Linked DNA regions of Homo sapiens: region 1 is linked to region 2. Evidence: promoter capture Hi-C in human tissues and cell types (Jung and others, 2019). All regions are on one chromosome and are shown on one strand. The core of a region is centred on a gene start or on the middle of the fragment in contact, and the rest is flanking DNA. Distances in the headings are between cores, read along the strand shown.

Region 1 (4,339 bases), core at 1,108-3,607, 1.0 Mb before region 2:
AACTAATGCTTGAGGAATTACTCCAATCCAGTGGGAGGAGAAGAAAGAGAAGGTAGTGAAAGAAATAAACATTCAGAAAGTAAGAAAAGAATTAGAGATAGTCTAATGTAGCCAGAAGTACATATCCCAGACCTTAGAAAATGGTTTTCACCGTCTCAGATTTTTCTGAAGTAAATATAAACAAATCCATTTTCTGTCTCTTCTTCCTTTAATTACATTATTATCCATTGGTCAAAGCAATATGAACCAATTCTAGTAGAAATTACATTGAAAGCTCCAATGAAATAGGATTTTCTTGGGAGTCACCCAAGAAATAGATTTTCTGAGCAGAGGTTTACACTTAGGTATGGTACTAATAAAGATTATCTGCAATAAGATTGGCAATGACAAATTGCCTACTATAGTAATAGCTTCATTATATAGAATTATTACTTGGAAAATTAATTTTAATTGAAAACAATTTATCTGAGTGGTAGAAGTAAAAAGATTCTCCCGGCAGAGCTTATACCTGCTGTGTCTACTTAGCAGTGATTATTTCCCTAACTTTCTATTGACTCAAGGCTTTCTGTGCTCTATATTTTCCTCATGCATATAAAATTATTTCCACAGATAGGAACACAGCATTTCTTTGCATTTAATCTTCATTTATAACCAAATTACTATATGAAACTTATATATCTGCATCTCATTTGGGAAAAAACTGGTACTTGCAAGAAAGTTTATTGGCAATAAAAAGAATGTATTTAAATTTACACACACACACACACACACACAAATTCAGAATAAAGTCATCTCCTGATAGCTTCTCCCATTTACAATATTTGTTCAAGGAATGAAAACTACATATTCCTTATTAAAAACATTTTTCCTCCATTATGATTTGAAATTGTCAAATAAGAGGAGTGGTCATATCCCAAATCAAAAATTCTTTTTGAGCTGCACTTCTCCCTGATTAAGTATTTAATCCTCACCTAAAGGTCTCTCTAAAGTTGAGGTCTTGAAAAATTCCTTCTTGGTGTATCTTCCAAATAGAAATGCACTGTTAAAGCTTTCGTACAATAAGAACACATTTGGAATTACGTATCTGATTCATTGCTACAGTTTACAACTAGAACCTAGGAGTTTCCACTGAAAACTGAGATAATCACTCATGGTAATTTAAGAATCGTAACTTTTCTGGATGTTTCCTACTACCATCATATTTGTAGAAAATAGGAAATACCTGTTTTAAAAAGATTCCACAGAAATGTGTTTAATATATATCACTATGCACAAATAGATGCACAAATTTATACTGTCTTTTGTCATTGTTTTTTTTTTTTTTTTTTTTTAGATGGAGCCTGGCTCTGTCACCCAGGCTGGAGTGCGGTGGTGTAATCTCAGCTCACTGCAACCTCCACCTCTCGGGTTCAAGCAATTCTCCCGCCTCAGCCTCCCGAGTAGCTGGGATTACAGGGGCCCGCCATCGTGCCCAGCTAATATTTGTAATTTTGTAGAGATGGGGTTTCACCGTGTTGGCCAGGCTGGTTTTGAACTCCTGATCTCAGGTGATTTTTTTTTTTATATATACTTTAAGTTCTGGGATACATGTCCAGAATGTGCAGGTTTGTTACATAGGTATAATGTGCCATGGTAGTTTGCTGCACCCATCTCCCCATCATCTAGGTTTTAAGCCCTGCATGTATTAGATATTTGTCCTAATGCTCTCCCTCCTCTTGCCCCACAACCCCTGACAGGCCTCAGTGTGTGATGTTCCCCTCCCTGTGTCCATGTGTTCTCACTGTTCACCTCCCACTAATGAATGAGAACATGCGGTGTTTGGTTTTCTGTTCTTGTGTTAGTTTGCTGAGAATGACGGTTTCCAGCTTCATTCCTGCCCTGGCAAAGGACATGAACTTATTCTTTTTTATGATTGCATAGTATTCCATGGTGTTTATGTGCCACATTTCTTTATCCAGTCTATCATTGATGGGCATTTGGTTTGGTTTGGCTTTGAAACTGCAATCCCTTTTCCCAAAAATCCCCACTTTTCCCACTTTCTGAATTAAGCTCACACAGCAGGTTGGCATTTAAGACATACCACTCTCTGGGAAAAAACCCTCAATTTTACCACATATCTATAGCCTATAGATTAACTGGATCATTATTATTATTAATCAGTTTTTAAGCCCACCTCATTGAATATATGAGACTCTCAAGATTAGAAGATGGGACGGCATTCTCTAGGAAAACTGTCTTCTGGATCAAATGACACACCAATTTCAAGATCTTCCTGATTCCATCAGTTACTCCCTTTTTCCATCAACTGTCTTTGTGTGTTTCTTTCCTCGGATTGAAGATATTTACATTTCTGATTGACATCAATATAATTATTTTTTTTTTCCGAGACAGGGTCTAACTCTGCCGCCCAGGCTGGAGTGCAGTGGTAAGATCTCGGCTCACTGCTACCTCCACCTCCTGGGTTCAAGCGATTGTCTTACCCTCAGCCTCCCGAGTAGTGGGGACTATGGAGCATGCCACCATTCCTGGCCTGATATATATATTTTAGTAGAGACAGAGAGATGGGGTTTTGCCATTTAGGCTAGGCTGGTCTCGAACTCCTGACCTCAGGTGATCCGCCTGCCTCAGCCTCCCAAAGTGCTGGGATTACAGGTGTGAACCACCAAGGCTGCCCTCTTATAATCATTGTGATATGCATATTACCTTCAAAATTTATGCTAATGGAACTGAATTGCTTGTAAATCATGAATGAATGGCTTGTAAAATCATCCTACAATGAAATATTCATTGGAATTTTTTTTCTGTCCTGACTCACAGCTGCATAAGAGAATTAGAAACAGTCAATGACATGGATATTTTATGTGCATGTTATCAAATAAAATTATATTTTTTAAAAATAGCACATTTGATATCACATATACATATATTAAGCCAGGATAACTTTAAGAAAATGATACCAGTTATCATTACTCTTTATCTCATTTATCTGAAGAAAATGCACTTGAAGCATAGGAATCTCTCCTCCCTATTACAGGGGATGCAAGCAAGAAACACATTTTGTTCTTGTGAAAGACTTAATGGGAGGAAAAAACAGAGGCTGGAAAGCCCTAATCTGACCTTCAAACAAAAAAGTCCTTTGAAAATAATGAAGTAAGTAATTTCCTCCCCTCTATTGGCAATGCCATCTCAATCTCTAAGAATTTCCTATTCACTCCTTGACCTTTCCAATGAGGTCATCACCAAAGGAAATGTCTTACTTCAAGAGTAAGAGCAGACTTTAAAGATCTTAAACAATTTCAGAGTATAGACCTTGTTAGATCCTGTTCTCTTGAAGGGAAAGAGTAAGCAAGAGTTTTTTGCCAAAGAAATAACTTCTCAATGAATTTCAAAGCACTTGTGTGTGTTCGGAAAGTAAAAAGCTGGACTCCATATAAATTCTAACATTTCAATACATTTTACATTGCCTACATCTTGAAATAATACTTTAGCTACTGAGGATTGTCATTTATTGATAAGGCTACATCTGATTTAGGAACTTATACTATTAAAAAAAACAGAAGAAATGTTGAGCTGAAAAAAGTATAAACTTTTCTCAAATAAAATATGTCCTTTTGACTACATGGTTTCACCTTATTCAAAGGGCAATTATTTTCTATAAATCTATATATGTTTGCAATTTATATGAAAGTTTTAGAAAATAATTTATGTTGCTCATATATAAGTAGCTACAGTGTTAAAATTTCTATTATATTATTTTACTTTTTAAAATAATTTGTATCTGATTTATGGTGTGCAAGACTTAAGATGAGAATTTAGTGAATTATATTTATGTCATACAGAACAGCAAAAAAGATAAATATATAAATAAATGATGAGATGTATGATATTCTAGTCATGGCTGGTCACGGTGGCTCAGTGGCTCACACCTATAATACCGGCACTTGGGGAGGCCGAGGTGGTTGGATCACCTGAGGTCAGGAGTTCGAGACCAGCCTGACCAACATGGTGAAACTCCATCTCTACTAAAAATACAAAAATTAGCCAGGCATGGTGGTAGGGCCTGTAATCCCAGCTACTCAGGAGGCTGAGACAGGAGAATTGCTTGAACCCGGGAGGTGGAGGTTGCAGTGAGCTGAGATCGCGCCAATGCACTCCAGCCTGGACGACAAGGGCAAAACTCCATTTCAAAAAAAAAAAAAAAAGATATTCTAGTCATGAAAAATAACAGTTGTGAAAGTTTAAATTAAGAAACTGAGGAAATGATAATTTTTTTAAAAATTGTATCAGCTTTCTTTGTGCTGATATTAAATCAGAACTGTTCTAAACATGATTCTCATAT
Region 2 (4,293 bases), core at 1,728-4,227:
CTGGGGAGGCTGAGGCAGGAGAATTGCTTGAACCTGGGAGGCGGAGGTTGTGGTGAGCCGAGATCACGCCATTGCACTCCAGTCTGGGCAACAAGAGCAAAACTGCGTCTCAAAAAAAAGAAAAAAAAAAAAAATTATGGCTGGGTATGATAGCTCATGCCTATAATCCCAGCACTTTGGGAGACCAAGGAGGATCACTTGAGCCCAGGGTTTGAGACCAGCTTGGGCAACAGAGACCCCTAACTCTACAAAAAACACAAAAATTAGCCAGGTGTGGGGGCGTGTGCCTGTAGGCCTGTAGTCCCAGCTACTCAGGAGGCTGAGGTAGGAGAATTGCCTGAGCCTGGGAAGTTGAGGCTGCAGTGAGCTGTAACTGCACCACTGCACTCCAGCCTGGGCAACAGAGTGAGACTCTGTCTCAAAAAAAAAAAAAAAAGAAAGAAAATTACCAGATAGTGGATAAACTGCTGGGCAGAGAAGTAAAGTAAGGTGATGTGAGTGATCAGATGACTGTGTTACTTAGATTGCCCTGTAACTGGAAGGAAGTGACTTTTAAGGCATGTATAGAAGCTGGGTGTGGTGACTCACACCTGGAATCCTAGTGCTTTGGGAGGCTGAGGCTGGAGTATCGCTTGAGGTCAGGAGTTTGAGACCAGCCTGGGCAGCAGGCTTTTGTAGAGACACGGTGACTTCAAAAAAAAAAAAAAAAAGTTAGCTGATGAGGTGGCACACACTTGCAGTACCAGCTACGCGAGGCTGAGGCATGAGGATCACTTGAGCACAGGAATTCAAGGTTACAGTGAACTATGACTGCACTTCAGCCTGGGCTACAAAGCCAGACCCTGTCTCTAAAATAAATAAATTAAAAATAAGGTGTGAACAGAATGACAATAAGATACCAACCCCGGAAGATCAGGGGGAAGAGGCTTTCTGACAGGAAGCACGTGGTACAATGACCCTAAGGCTCTGTTTTAAAATGCGTGGGGGCAAAAAGCCTGCATTTCTGGAGCTTGGAGAAGAAAGCTTTAAAAAATTATCTCATCCCACTCCTGTTCTTTTTTGCATGAGAGCTGGAGCCTATGCCCTACCACACATCCGTGGATATGCCCAGGATTTGACTTGGGCCTTCGAACTTTGCACAGTAGCTGCTACTAACTTTTTGAGATAATACATTCGTGGGGGCTCAGTCCTGCCTCATCTAAATCACCAGAGACCAAACAAGGACCAGCCCAATATCTCTTGGACTGTAATGTCATAATGTTGTCAGAATACAGAGAAAGATGAAACTAAGCCGGGTCCGGTGGCTTATGCCTGTAATCCAGCATTTTGGGAGGCCGAGGCAGGTGGATCACTTGAGGCCAGGAGTTCAAGACCAGCCTGGCCAATATGCTGAAACCCTGCCTCTACCAAAAAAATACAAAAGTTAGCTGTGTGGTGGGGTGGCACGTGCCTATAATCCCAGCCACTGGGGAGGGTGAGGTGGGAGAATCGGGAGGTGGAGGTTGCAGTGAGCTGAGGTCGTGCCACTGCACTCCAGCCTGGGTAACAGAGTGCAACCCGGTCTCAATAAATAAATAAATAAGTAAATAAAACAAAAATTATCTCAGCAGTAAAAAGCAAGAGAGCTAGTTTTCCCCCAAATTTAACCAAATGTTACTCTGGTGGTTAGTATGCCACCATCTTAAACTCCTTTTATCTGATTAGTAAGGATGGACATTTATTTTATGACCAATTGTTCTTTTATGGTGAATTACCTGTTTACATATCTATTTTTCTATAGCTATCTGCAACTCCCCCGACCCCCACGGTAGCGATTACTATCTTCTCTACTAAACTAAGACTCCAGGGCAGAGAGGCCTATGTTTAATTCATTTGAGGAAAGGCTTGGCACAAAGTGTGCACTTACATATTTTCTTTTTTTCTTTTTGAGAGGGAGTTTTGCTCTTGTTGCCCAGGCTGGAGTGCAATGGAGTGATCTTGGCTCATTGCAACCTCTGCCTCCAGACTTCAAGCGATTCTCCCCCTTAGCCTCCCGAATAGCTGGGATTACAGGCGCCCGCCACCACGACCGACTAATTTTTTGTATTTTTAGTAGAGACGGGATTTCACCACGTTGGCCAGGCTGGTCTCGAACTCCTGACCTCACGTGATCCACCCGCCTCGGCCTCCCAGTGTTGGGATTACAGGGGTGAGCCACCGCGCCAGGGCTCGCACTTACAAATTTTCAAAGAATGGACAGTAAATATTTGAAAATCCCCTCCTCCCCCGCAATTTATCTGACACCGTCTTTCGGTTTTGCTTTAAAAATTCACTCTCGCGGCCGGGCGCGGTGGCTCACGCCTGTAATCCCAGCACGTTGGGAGGCCGAGGCGGGCGCATCACAAGGTCAGGAGTTGGAGACCAGCCTGGCCAATTGGTGAAACCCCGTCTCTACTAAAAATACAAAAATTTTAGCTGGGCGTGGTGCCGTGCGCCTGTAGTCCCAGCTACTCGGGAGGCTGAGGCAGAAGAATGCACTCCAGCCTGGGCGACAGAGGGATATTCCGTCTCAAACAAACAAAAAATCACTCGCTGCGTTTTTTATTCTGACATGGTGCAGGAAGGTAAATTCAAGACAACTTAGGTACTCAGTTTTAGAAGTCGACAGGACAGAATTACGGAAACAAATTTAAGCGTTCCCCCTTTTAGCTCCAAATATAATGTGTTCCAGAAAGGTAACCATCTAGGAAACTCCAAGGCTCAGACCACCACCGGATGCCCACACTTCAGGAGCATTTATATAACTTCGTGGTTATGTCAGAGACGAGAAAACCCATTGACAACCAAACCCCTAAACCCGAACATCCGGCGCAAGCCGCACGCAGGCGCAGATTTACTAGCGTCAGAGCCGATGGTCCCGGGAGGTGGGGGTGGGGTGGTGGTGGCCTAGCCACTTCCCATAATGCCGCGTTCCGGAAGTTATTGCTTTCCAGGGGTCACTCTGGCTTCGACTCCGTCGCTCTCAATTCGTCACCAGGAGGAAGACGGAGCTGGCTGCCCAGCCCAAAGGCCCATGAGGGGATGCAGTTATGGGCTCTGTCGCCGTGGGTGAGTTCTGGTCCCACTGCCTGGCAGTCGTCGCTCGCCTGGCTTTCTGCGCTGGGAGAGCTCCTGTTTTCCGCCCCAACTTCGTTCTCTTCTTGAAGGCCGCTCTCCTTAAGCACGTAACCCGGCTACTTTCCGGTACTGCGATCTCATTGGCTGCATGTTCTGTCAGTTCCAGAAGCTGGCCAATGAGATGCCGCTGCTGGCGGCCTTCTCGACCCCGTGGACCCAGAGGTTCCCCCGTGGGATCGGAGCAGTTAGAAGGGGAGGAGAGGGAAGGTGTGGCAGGCGCCGAGCAAATGGGTGGGTGGCGCGTGGCAGGGACTTCCCTATGGGTTGGAGCTGGATTTGCAGCCGTGTTCATACGGCTGGTAGGAAAAGCAGGATCTGTCACTTATCCAATTGACTATATCTAGGAGGGGATTGATATACGCAAAACTTGAAAGCCACGTTAACACCTGCTGACAAAGTTTTCCACACGCTTACATTTTTAATGGAACCGAGTAGGCAGGGGAAGACTGGGAGGGCAGAGAGTGAAGAGACTTGGAATAATATGAGAACCGGCAAGACTATCTTTGATTTAGATTTTGTATGGAGTCCTGCGAAGAGTCATTTCACTAAGACGTTAATGCTCATCCGATGACACTACTTGAAAAGTGTATTAAGTTTATTGATGTTTTATAGCTGATGGAAGTCACAATATGCTCTCCTCATGACTCATTAGTTGCCTTTATAGTTGTCAGAACTTTACTGAGGCTCTTTCCGCAGCACTGGAGTGACCCCTCTGTCCTCTGCCTGCAGTAATTAACAATTCGTCTTTCAAGTTTTCCTATGGAGTCTAAGCTGCTGCAATCCTCAAACCAGATTTACTAGTGCTGTCTTCACTACTGCAGACTTCTGACTTCTCATTTTTCACCCTTTTCTTTTTCACCAGAACTTGTTTGCTTCATTCTTATGTACCTACCTTTGCACCTTGTAATCATCCTTTATGCCTCAGGTACTATTCTATTTTTCTATTTCAATGCAAGAAGTATTTCTTCAGGACCTGCTATGTACTAACATTATGCTAGATATTATAGGCAGTTCCAAAACTGTGCTTGAAACCATTTATTTTTCTAAGAACTTTAGATTCTGCTTACAGAAATAACATAAACCCAGATTAAAGATTTAAGAAATTCACTAGAATATGGGATAAGGGGACAAGATGAC

What was found. Contacts are between HindIII fragments. The study calls those that stand out against the background at their distance.
Region 1: a fragment that was not itself captured here is called in contact with the fragment with the promoter of USP16 in region 2 in 1 of the 25 tissues and cell types used here (aorta).

The regions. Positions count from the first base shown.
Region 1 is chr21:27,976,576-27,980,914 of GRCh38, forward strand. No RefSeq gene overlaps it. Among named protein-coding and RNA genes, the nearest start is that of LINC00314, 35 kb to the right of the region's middle. The HindIII fragment of the contact is 4,119 bases long and covers 299-4,339 here.
Region 2 is chr21:29,021,691-29,025,983 of GRCh38, forward strand. It overlaps USP16 (ubiquitin specific peptidase 16), which reads left to right and starts at 2,978. Exons shown (of 18, transcript NM_006447.3): 1 at 2,978-3,087. RefSeq lists an enhancer at 2,854-3,243. The HindIII fragment of the contact is 4,673 bases long and covers 1-3,492 here.